Linked DNA regions of Homo sapiens: regions 2 and 3 are each linked to region 1. The links are contacts of gene promoters, found by promoter capture Hi-C in blood cells and fetal thymus (Javierre and others, 2016). All regions are on one chromosome and are shown on one strand. The core of a region is centred on a gene start or on the middle of the fragment in contact, and the rest is flanking DNA. Distances in the headings are between cores, read along the strand shown. Region 1 holds the start of NUP155 (nucleoporin 155). Region 2 has its middle 38 kb from the start of LINC02119. Region 3 overlaps SLC1A3-AS1 (SLC1A3 antisense RNA 1).

Region 1 (3,198 bases), core at 427-2,926:
CAGTTTGAGTTATTCACAAATATTAATAGATGTAACCAACATGAAACAAAAACTCTCTGGAATCCTGAATAATTTTTAAGGGTATCAAGGGGGTCCTAAGACCAAAAAAATTCATAATTATCTGTTCTAGGGAAGAGGTCAGCAAACTTTTCCTGTAAAGTGCCAGAGTCCGTATTTAAGGCTTTGCAGTCTTTTGTAGAAATTACTCGGTTTAGCAGTTGTAGTGGGAAAGCATAGGCAATATGCCAATGAATTAAGTTAGTTAGATTACACTTTGGGGAGCTTTACTTCTATGCAGGAATATCACAGCAACGTTGTTGAATCTTCCAATTTATGGAGTTGAAAACTTTGTGTATTTTGTCTCAAATTAAAAACAAACTCGGTGCCAGACCACCACTTTTCAATCTATGGTCTACCAAATAAAGTAAACTCACAGCTAGAGACCCAACTGCCTATCTATATACCAATGATAAAAAATCCAGTTTTTCTTGGTATATTGGCTATGTCAAATTTTAAGTGTAGATTGGTAACATCAAAGAACTTTCAATTTTCAGAAATGTAGTCAAGTCTTTGAGGGAGTAAAAATGTAATTCAAATAGCAAAAGACCAATTTAGAGTAATTCAGTTATTGATTTGTGAAATTCTGAAGAACATAACTGGAAGCTTTCTTAGGTGAGATTCTAAATAAGAGCAGCTTTCTAAAAAGTGCTTTGATTTACCCACTCAGGTTGCCTTCTGTAGTAAATGAAGCCTCTTTTACCTCTCTGCTTTCTCCTATCCTGCTATAGTTTATACCTATCCAAATAGAAAAATTATAATGAAGCCCTTTGTCTCTGCTTGAAGCACCTTAAGGACAGGAAACACTGTGTTAGTTTGATAGTCCCAGCACCAGGCACAAGGCAAGTATTCAGTTTCTTAGGATTGTATGAACTCTTGGGTTCCTATCTCATACGAGTTCCTATACTAGCGCTGGGAATGGAAAGATGAATTAGAACTGTCTGCTATCTCTGCCACGATAAAAAGCACGGCAGCGGTCCACCTGCACTCAGCTTCTTCTTAAACACGTATTTTATACTAAGGGGCAACAAAGTCAAAAGACAGCGACACGCAAATGGAAAAGCCTGATGAATTCTAATTTACACTGAAGCCCGCGAAGAATATAGTGAGATACTGGTTTATATCCCTCTCTGTGACAGCGACCTACCAATTCTTAACTACTCTCACAAAAGCAGTTACTTGGAGAACCAAACTGCGCGCTCATGCGCGAACTCATATAGCTGCAGTTAGCGGATACCGACGCGGGAAGTTCCAAGACTCAGGTCGAGCACGCGCTTAAACCAACGGAACCTGACCAACCTCCTAGGCCAGACACACGACCTAGCTCCCACCTACCGTATCCCTCCTCCCTCCTTCCTCCTCACCCTATCCAACCCCATCCCGCCCCTCTCCTTCCCTGTTCCCTCCCCTTTATCCTTCCCTTCCTTTCCCTCCCTCCCTTCCCTAAATAACCTACCCTAATTTTACCCTGCCACACCCCAAAACCCTCAACCCCCTCGAAAGCATCAGCAGCCTCCTAGCTCCACCCACAACCTCTAGCCCCCTCCCAACAGCTTCCTCTTCCCAGGCCAGAACGGCGTCTTCCAGTTCCCCACCGGATGAAGCGGAAGTGCGTCATGTCGAGGCGCCAAGGCGCTCGTTTGGCGCGCGCGCCCTAGGCGGCGGATCTAAGCTAACTTCTTGGATCTTTTCTTGTTTCTCCTTGGTTTTTGACTTTTTCTGGACCCTGGTGTCTACGATTTCCGAGATGCCGTCTTCTTTGTTGGGCGCGGCGATGCCGGCCTCTACATCTGCCGCAGCCCTGCAGGAAGCTCTGGAAAATGCTGGACGGCTCATCGACCGTCAGTTGCAAGAGGACCGCATGTACCCGGACCTTTCCGAGCTGCTTATGGTGTCTGCCCCAAGTGAGTGATAGTGACCCTGCTTTCTCAACCTAAAGGACTCTCGCCTGACTTCCTAATTTGCTACTTATCCCCAGCGTTGGTCCCGGCGAGGATATGCTGAGATTTATGGCACTGTTGGCTGCATTTTTGGAGAACAGCAAGCAGCTTCTTTTCAGGTTTTTTCCTTTCCTCACTTTCTTCATTGTAGATACTTGAGAGGGCAAGAGTGAAGAGCAAGCTCCCAGTTGAAGCAGAAAGAGGCAAAGACCTCAACCTTAATGAGCTTCTCGCCGCTCTCAAGTGCTTATGGCTAAGGCCATATGAGAAGCATCTCCAGATCCAAGTCCCAAATTTGTTCATTTCTCCTGTTAGTGTTTGAGTAGATCGTAAGAGCAAACGAAGTTAATTTGGAAATTTAGCATGTTATCTTAAAGATACGCTTTGCTTTATATTTATTTGTTTATTTATTGAGACGGAGCGGTTCCCTCTTCGCCCAGGCTGAAGTGCAATGGCGCGATCTCGGCTCATTGCAACCTCCGCCTCCTGGGTTCAAGCGATTCTTCTGCCTCAGACTCCCAAGTAGCTGAGATTACAGGCGCCTGCCACCAAGCCCGGCTAATTTTTGTGTTTTTTAAGTAGAGACGGGGTTTCACCATATTGGCCTGGCTGGTCACGAACTCTGACCTCAAGTGATCCGCCCGCCTCGGCCTCCCAAAGTGCTGGGATTACAGGCGCAAGCCACTGCACCCGGCCAAGAAACGCTTTATTATGTGTAGAGATGTGTGTTATGAAATGCTGGAGGATCTTAAAAGAACTACCAGTGGAATAAAGAAAGAGAACAGGGAAATCACAGTGCTTATGTACAGGGAGAGTAAGGCAGAATATGTGTTGACAATATAGGTGACTGGAAAGTAATTTGTTTAACAGTTTTAAGTTATAACCAGCTCCCCACGGCTTATGGAATTACATCAGTTGCTAGAAAAAGTGACCCCTTTGTGAGATGGAATTTGGAGAAAACCAGCGAAGTGTAAGAAAGAAAAGATTGTTGGTGAGCAAGAACCAAAGTAATCTAAATAGGATAATTTGTGCAGTGTAAACCGAGAACACTTCTGATTATTTATAAAAATCATTGATAGCTTTGTAATCAAAGAAATGATAGAAACAAAGATAGTATTTGCTCCCTACAGCTACTTACCAATGAGCGTGTCTTATAATACCTGATTGGCCTATTAGCAATTATCATCTTGAACAACATTAC
Region 2 (3,198 bases), core at 473-2,972, 820 kb before region 1:
CAGGCTGGTGGGGAGGAGGGCATTTCCAAGGGCAAAATGTGGGCCCACTGGTATTAAAACTTCTCTATTTCCTACATTTTACTTTCTACAGCTAAAGTGTGAAGCAAATCATTGTCCTGTGACCTGAGGGGAGGGTGGAGAAGCTTTAAATGATTTAAACTTGAAACTTGTTCCCCTCCAAACAAAAATGGCATTGTAATGTTAGATAAGTTCTTTACCCTTTCTAGGTCTCAAATTTTTCTCCCCATAATGTAGCTTCCATTTCATCTGGTAAGCAAATCCTGAATTTTAACTGCCTCAGAAGGACCTTGAGCTCTGTGCTTGAAAGGCAGCAAAAGCCGAGTGCAATATTAATGTATAATTATTTACAATACAACCACAAACTCAATTTAAAAGCCAGTTGAAGTGTAAGGAGCAAACCACAAAGATACAGGTAAACATTTAAAGTGGAGACATCACGGTTCAACAAAGAATTGATTCTCTTCTAGAGCAATCATCTCTAAAGCCCATCTCACATTTCTGAAATGCTGTTACAAATAAAACAGAAATCAGGACAAGAGGAGGTGACAAGAGGCAGGAAAAATGCCAATGATCTGGATTTGGCCAACTTCCTGATGGTGGGCATGTCATCCCGTCACTCTGGCCCTTGCTTTCATCGTGTTTTTTGTCTAAATTGCAGCCAGAAAACACATAAGCTTACCCTCTTAACCATTTTCTAGTGTACAGTATTGTTAACTATATGCCATGCACATTGTTGTATAACAAACAGAGCTCTAGAAAGTTCATTCGGCATGACTGAAACCCTATACCCATTGAATAGCTCCTGGTTCCCTGTGTCCCCAGCCTCTGGCAACCACCATTTGACTTTCTGTTTCTATGAGTTTGATTACTTTAGACACTTTACAGAAGTGGAATCAGGCAATATTTGTCTTTTTTTGTGATTGGCTTATTTCATTTAACCTAATGTCTTTAAGGTATGAACCTTGTTGTAGCATGTACTAGGACTTCCTTCTTTTTAAAAGCTGAATGATATTCCATTTTGTGTATATGCCACATTTTCTTTATCTATTCATTCTACCGATGGCTTTTAGGTTGCTTCCACATCTTGGCAATTATGAAGAATGCTACAATGAATATGGGTGTGCAAATGTCTCTTCGAGATCCTGTTTTCAGTTCTTTTGTAAAAATTCTCAGAAGTGGGATTGCTGAATCATATGGCAATTCTATTTTTAATTTTTCAAGTAATCTCTATACTGTTTTCCATCATGCTGCACCATTTTACAATCCCACCAACAGTGTTTTGTCTTCAGGATTGCACTGCTGAAGCCTGTTTCTTCTCCTGTTACAATTGGAACAAGGGTTCCAATTACTCTACATCCTCATCAACATTTGTTTTCCTGTTTTTTTTTATGGTGGCCATCCTAATGGGGGTGAGGTAATATCTCACTCTGGTTTTGCTTTGCATTTTCCTAATGATTAGTGATGTTGAGCATCTGTGAATATGCTGTTGGTCATTTGTTTATTTTCTTTAGATAAATGTCTGCTGAAGTCCTTTGATCATTTTTTTAATTGAGTTATTTGGTTTTTGTTACTGAGTTGTAGGAGTTCTCTATGTATCCATCATTGAGTATGATGTTAGCTGTGGGGTTTTCATATATGACTTTATTATGTTGAAGTAGTTTTCTTCTATTACTAGTGTGTTGAATGTTTTTATCATGAAAGTTGTTAAATTTTGTGAAATGTTTTTTCTGGATTAACTGAGATAATCATGCCATTTTTGTCCTCTGTTCTTTTGATGTGGTGTATTATATTTATGAATTTTTTATGTTGAACTATCCTTGCATCCCACAGATAAATCCCACGTGATTATAAATGTATAATTCTTTAAATGTGCTATTGTATGCCATTCTCTAGTATTTTCTTGTGAGTTTTTACATCAATACCCATCAGAGATACTGGCCTGTAGTTTTTTTTCTGGTAGTATCCTTGTCTGGCTTTGGTATTAGGGTAATGCTGGCCTCATAACATCAGTTTGGAAGTGTTCCCTCTTCTTCAATATTTTGGACGAGTTTGACAAGGATTGGTGTTAATTCTTCTTTGAATGTTTGGTAGAATTCTCCCATGAAGCCATCTTGTTTTGGGCTTTTCTTTGTTGGGAGATTTTTGATTACTGACTCAATCTCCTTACTAATTATAGGTCTGTTCAGATTTTCTACTTCGTCATGATTGAGTCTGGGTAGGTTATAAGAATTTAACCTTATATAACCTGTTTCTAAGAATTTATCTGTTGTTTCTAGGTTATATAATTTGCTGGTATATAAGTGTTAATAATAGCCTTTATAATCCTTTGTGTTTCTGTGGCATCAGTTGTACCTCCTCTTTCCCGATTTTAGTTATTTGTCATTGTGTTTAAAACGAGGTTGTTGAACTAGATGATTTCTAAGGTCTTTGTAGCTCTGAAATTCTTTGACGCCTCAAAATAACATTTTAAAATGTATTATAAAATATTTAAGACATACAAAATGATATAAAGAAGAATACAATCAATGCCCACCTAGCTTAAGAAATAGAAGTCATCAGTGCAGTAGATAACTTTCTGTGTATCCTTCCCCAAGTGTGCTCTCTGTTCCAGAAGAACTCACTGTTCTGAATTTTGTATTTTTTATTCTCATACATATATTTATGCTTTTTATTATATATATGTGTGCATGTGTAAGAGAAATATATATTTTGTTTACTTTTAAGCTTCATATTAGAAATAAAATATTGTATTTATTAGTCTACAAGTAGATTTTTTTCTAACATTTTGTGAGCTTCATCCTTGTTGATGCACGTAGCAGTTGTTCATTTCCCCTCGCTTTACCCCCACCCCCGTTGTAACACTTAATTATATGAAGGTGCCGCAGTTTCGGTATGCATTGTTGATGAACATCAGGTTGTTTTCATTGTTTTGTTTTAACAATCTTTCTCCAAATATCCATGTATATATCTCCCTGAGCGCTTGTGTGGGATTTGCTCTAATAGAAAACTACCAGGAGGATAGCAAATGTGCATTTGCACCTTGACTAAATAATGCCAAATTTTTCTCTAAAGTAATTGAACCAATGTGTACTCCCACCAGCAGGGCATAAGATCTCCTGTTATTCAATATCCACACCATCACTTGGTAGTATCAGACATGTAATGCCCATTCATACA
Region 3 (2,500 bases), core at 1-2,500, 670 kb after region 1:
TCTGACACATGCAGGAGAGGGGAAGGCAATGTGACCATGGAGGCAGAGAGGGGAGTGATGTGGCCACAAACCAAGGATTGTTGGCAGCTGCCAGTGGCCGAAGGGGCAATGAATGGATTCTCCTTTGGAGCCTCTGGAGGGAGAATGGCCCTGCTAACACCTTGATTTTGGCCCAGTGATACTGATTTTGGACTTCTGCCCTCTAGAACTGTGAGGGAATACTTTTCTGTTGCTTTAAGCCATTGAATTTATGATGATTTGTTACAGCACCCACAGGAAACAAATGCATGGATCTAACTTGAACCTAGTGAGTTAGATTACTTCAGGGAAACACAATAAATAGTTAACAGGGCTTGTCAGGGGGGTGGGAGTGAGATGAAAGTGTGAAGGCAACTTCTATGGTTTACTTTTATATTTCCCTATTTTTCAAATCTTTTGCAAGAAAATGAATTCATATACTATTTTAAAAAACATATAAAATATGAGCAAAAAGATTTATTGTATCTCTTTAAAATAATTTAGAACAAGTAATGGCTGCAGAACCTTAAAGGGTTTTTCTAGCATGTTTCCAAGATACAGTCTTGATTATTTGAGATTGACATGAAGATGGCCCAGACTGTGCCACAACACAGCACTTGACACCAAATGTTAGACTGTAATGGGCCGTGTGAGTATTACTCAGTGTGGCCATTTCATTATCAAATATCTATTTATTTCAGATTTCAAACACGAATACAAGCTTCTCCTTTCTTTCCTTCCTTTCTCTTTTTCTCCTTTCTACAGCAAGTTCAGGAATGTGCTAGGTATGACCTGGGATAGAAAGAGCATATACTCAGCTTTTGCCTTCAAGAAAATTGGATATTGGCTTGGGAGATAAGATAAATGAAAAGGAAGCAGATGATCTGTTATAGAAGAGATAACACTGTAAGCCCAAATGTATGTGATTAAGTTCTAAAAGTGTAAACCAATAGGGAGTGCTGTGAGGTGTCACCACGGGCGCAGATTGCAGCAGATCTGACCATACAAGTGTAAATAAAACCCTATTGAATGCCCCCTCTCCCTCCCCAATTGTTCTGAGTGGTTGCTTCAAGATTTCTTCTCATCGTTCTCAAATTGTTACTGTGAGATTAACTGGCAAACATTTCTCCTTAACATAAGAAGTGTGAATGGAATCCTACCAAGTGATTTTGCCAATAGTTCCTATTCCTGCTGCAAACAGTGGTGTGCTCAGGCTTAAGCTGTAACATGTCCACACTCACCTGTCACTTGGGAATGCCTCTGTTGGAATGCAACATGCCCACTTATCACACAGCCGGCATGAGAGGCAGAGTGGAGTTTAACCAAGCATTCTGCCCCCAAAGTCTGCAGATGTAGCCAGTGCCTTCAGAAAAGGGAAGGGAAACTAACCCTGTTGAGTATCTACTATGTGCTAGGCATTCTGTTAAGCACTTTTACACACATCATTTAATCCTCGTGACAGTATTTAGAAATAGCTATCATTTCCCAGTTCTGTAGATGAGGAAGAAAAGGTAGGCTCAGAGAGGGTAGGTAAGTTGTCTAAGGTCACATAGCTGGTACATAGTAGTAGAGCTAGGGTGCAAACCCAAGATTTTCTGAGTCCAAAGCACATGCCTATTCCATCATTTCGGTAATAAGAATAAATGTCTTTCAAATGTAGTGGTGAGAGATGAATAAAAAGCCGTCCTTGGTGATCCTGGGGAGTCTACACCCTCTGCCTGCCTGGCTCCACATCAAGCTTGTGTTTGCCAGCACTTACACCCCTGCATTTCCCTCCAATCCCTGTCATCTCCCTTGTGGAGTCCTCTCCTCCTCTCCTACCCGTTGGTCCCCTTTTTCACCCATCCTTCAGCCATTTAATGATCTCATCTTTAATTCCTGTTTATAACTCCATGAGCTCCTCGATCACTGTCTCCTGAGATGTCCTTTTTGTCACTGGAACTTGTATTAAAGTGGTTTTGTAATGGGTATTTCTGTTTCTTTTGTCCTACTCTGAATTTCCTGAGGGCAGGGACTACATCTCTTTTATTCTTCTATGTTTCCCTCAGGTTCTGTGGTTATGCATTGGCAATTAGCAATTCTTTCTTTTTTTTTTTTTTTATATGGGATCTCACTGTATTGCCCAGGCTGGTGTGCCTTGGCACAATCTTGGCTCACTGCAGCCTCCACCTCTTGGGTTCAAGTGATCCTCACCACTCAGTCTCTTGAGTAGCTGCTGGGACTACAGGCACGTGCTACCATGCCTGGCTAATTTTTTGTATTTTTTGGTAGAGACAGGGTTTCATCATGTTGGCCAGGCTATTCAAACTCCTGGGCTCCAGTGATCGGCCTGCCTCGGCTCCCAAAATGCTGGGATTACAGGCATGAACCACCATGCCTGGGCTAGCAATTATTTCTTGACTTGAATTGCTTCCTGGTTGCTCACAGAAGTCTGCTGCAACCTCTTCTCCCCAGCTTATTCCTTTTGTGCCACTTCACTCCC

What was found. Contacts are between HindIII fragments. The CHiCAGO score rates a contact against its expected background, and 5 or more counts as called.
Region 2: a contact is called between a fragment that was not itself captured here and the fragment with the promoter of NUP155 in region 1, in 1 of 17 cell types (erythroblasts). The highest score is 5.1, in erythroblasts.
Region 3: a fragment that was not itself captured here is called in contact with the fragment with the promoter of NUP155 in region 1 in 1 of 17 cell types (total B cells); the score reaches 6.2 in total B cells.

Annotation. Positions count from the first base shown.
Region 1 is chr5:37,369,584-37,372,781 of GRCh38, reverse strand. NUP155 (nucleoporin 155) reads left to right here and starts at 1,676. Exons shown (of 35, transcript NM_153485.3): 1 at 1,676-1,961. The coding sequence starts at 1,805. RefSeq lists enhancers at 1,684-1,773, 1,894-2,003. The HindIII fragment of the contact is 10,669 bases long and covers 666-3,198 here.
Region 2 is chr5:38,185,337-38,188,534 of GRCh38, reverse strand. No RefSeq gene overlaps it. Among named protein-coding and RNA genes, the nearest start is that of LINC02119, 38 kb to the right of the region's middle. The HindIII fragment of the contact is 2,050 bases long and covers 698-2,747 here.
Region 3 is chr5:36,700,367-36,702,866 of GRCh38, reverse strand. The region is part of intron 1 of SLC1A3-AS1 (SLC1A3 antisense RNA 1); the gene reads left to right. Among named protein-coding and RNA genes, the nearest start is that of SLC1A3-AS1, 24 kb to the left of the region's middle. The HindIII fragment of the contact is 1,017 bases long and covers 742-1,758 here.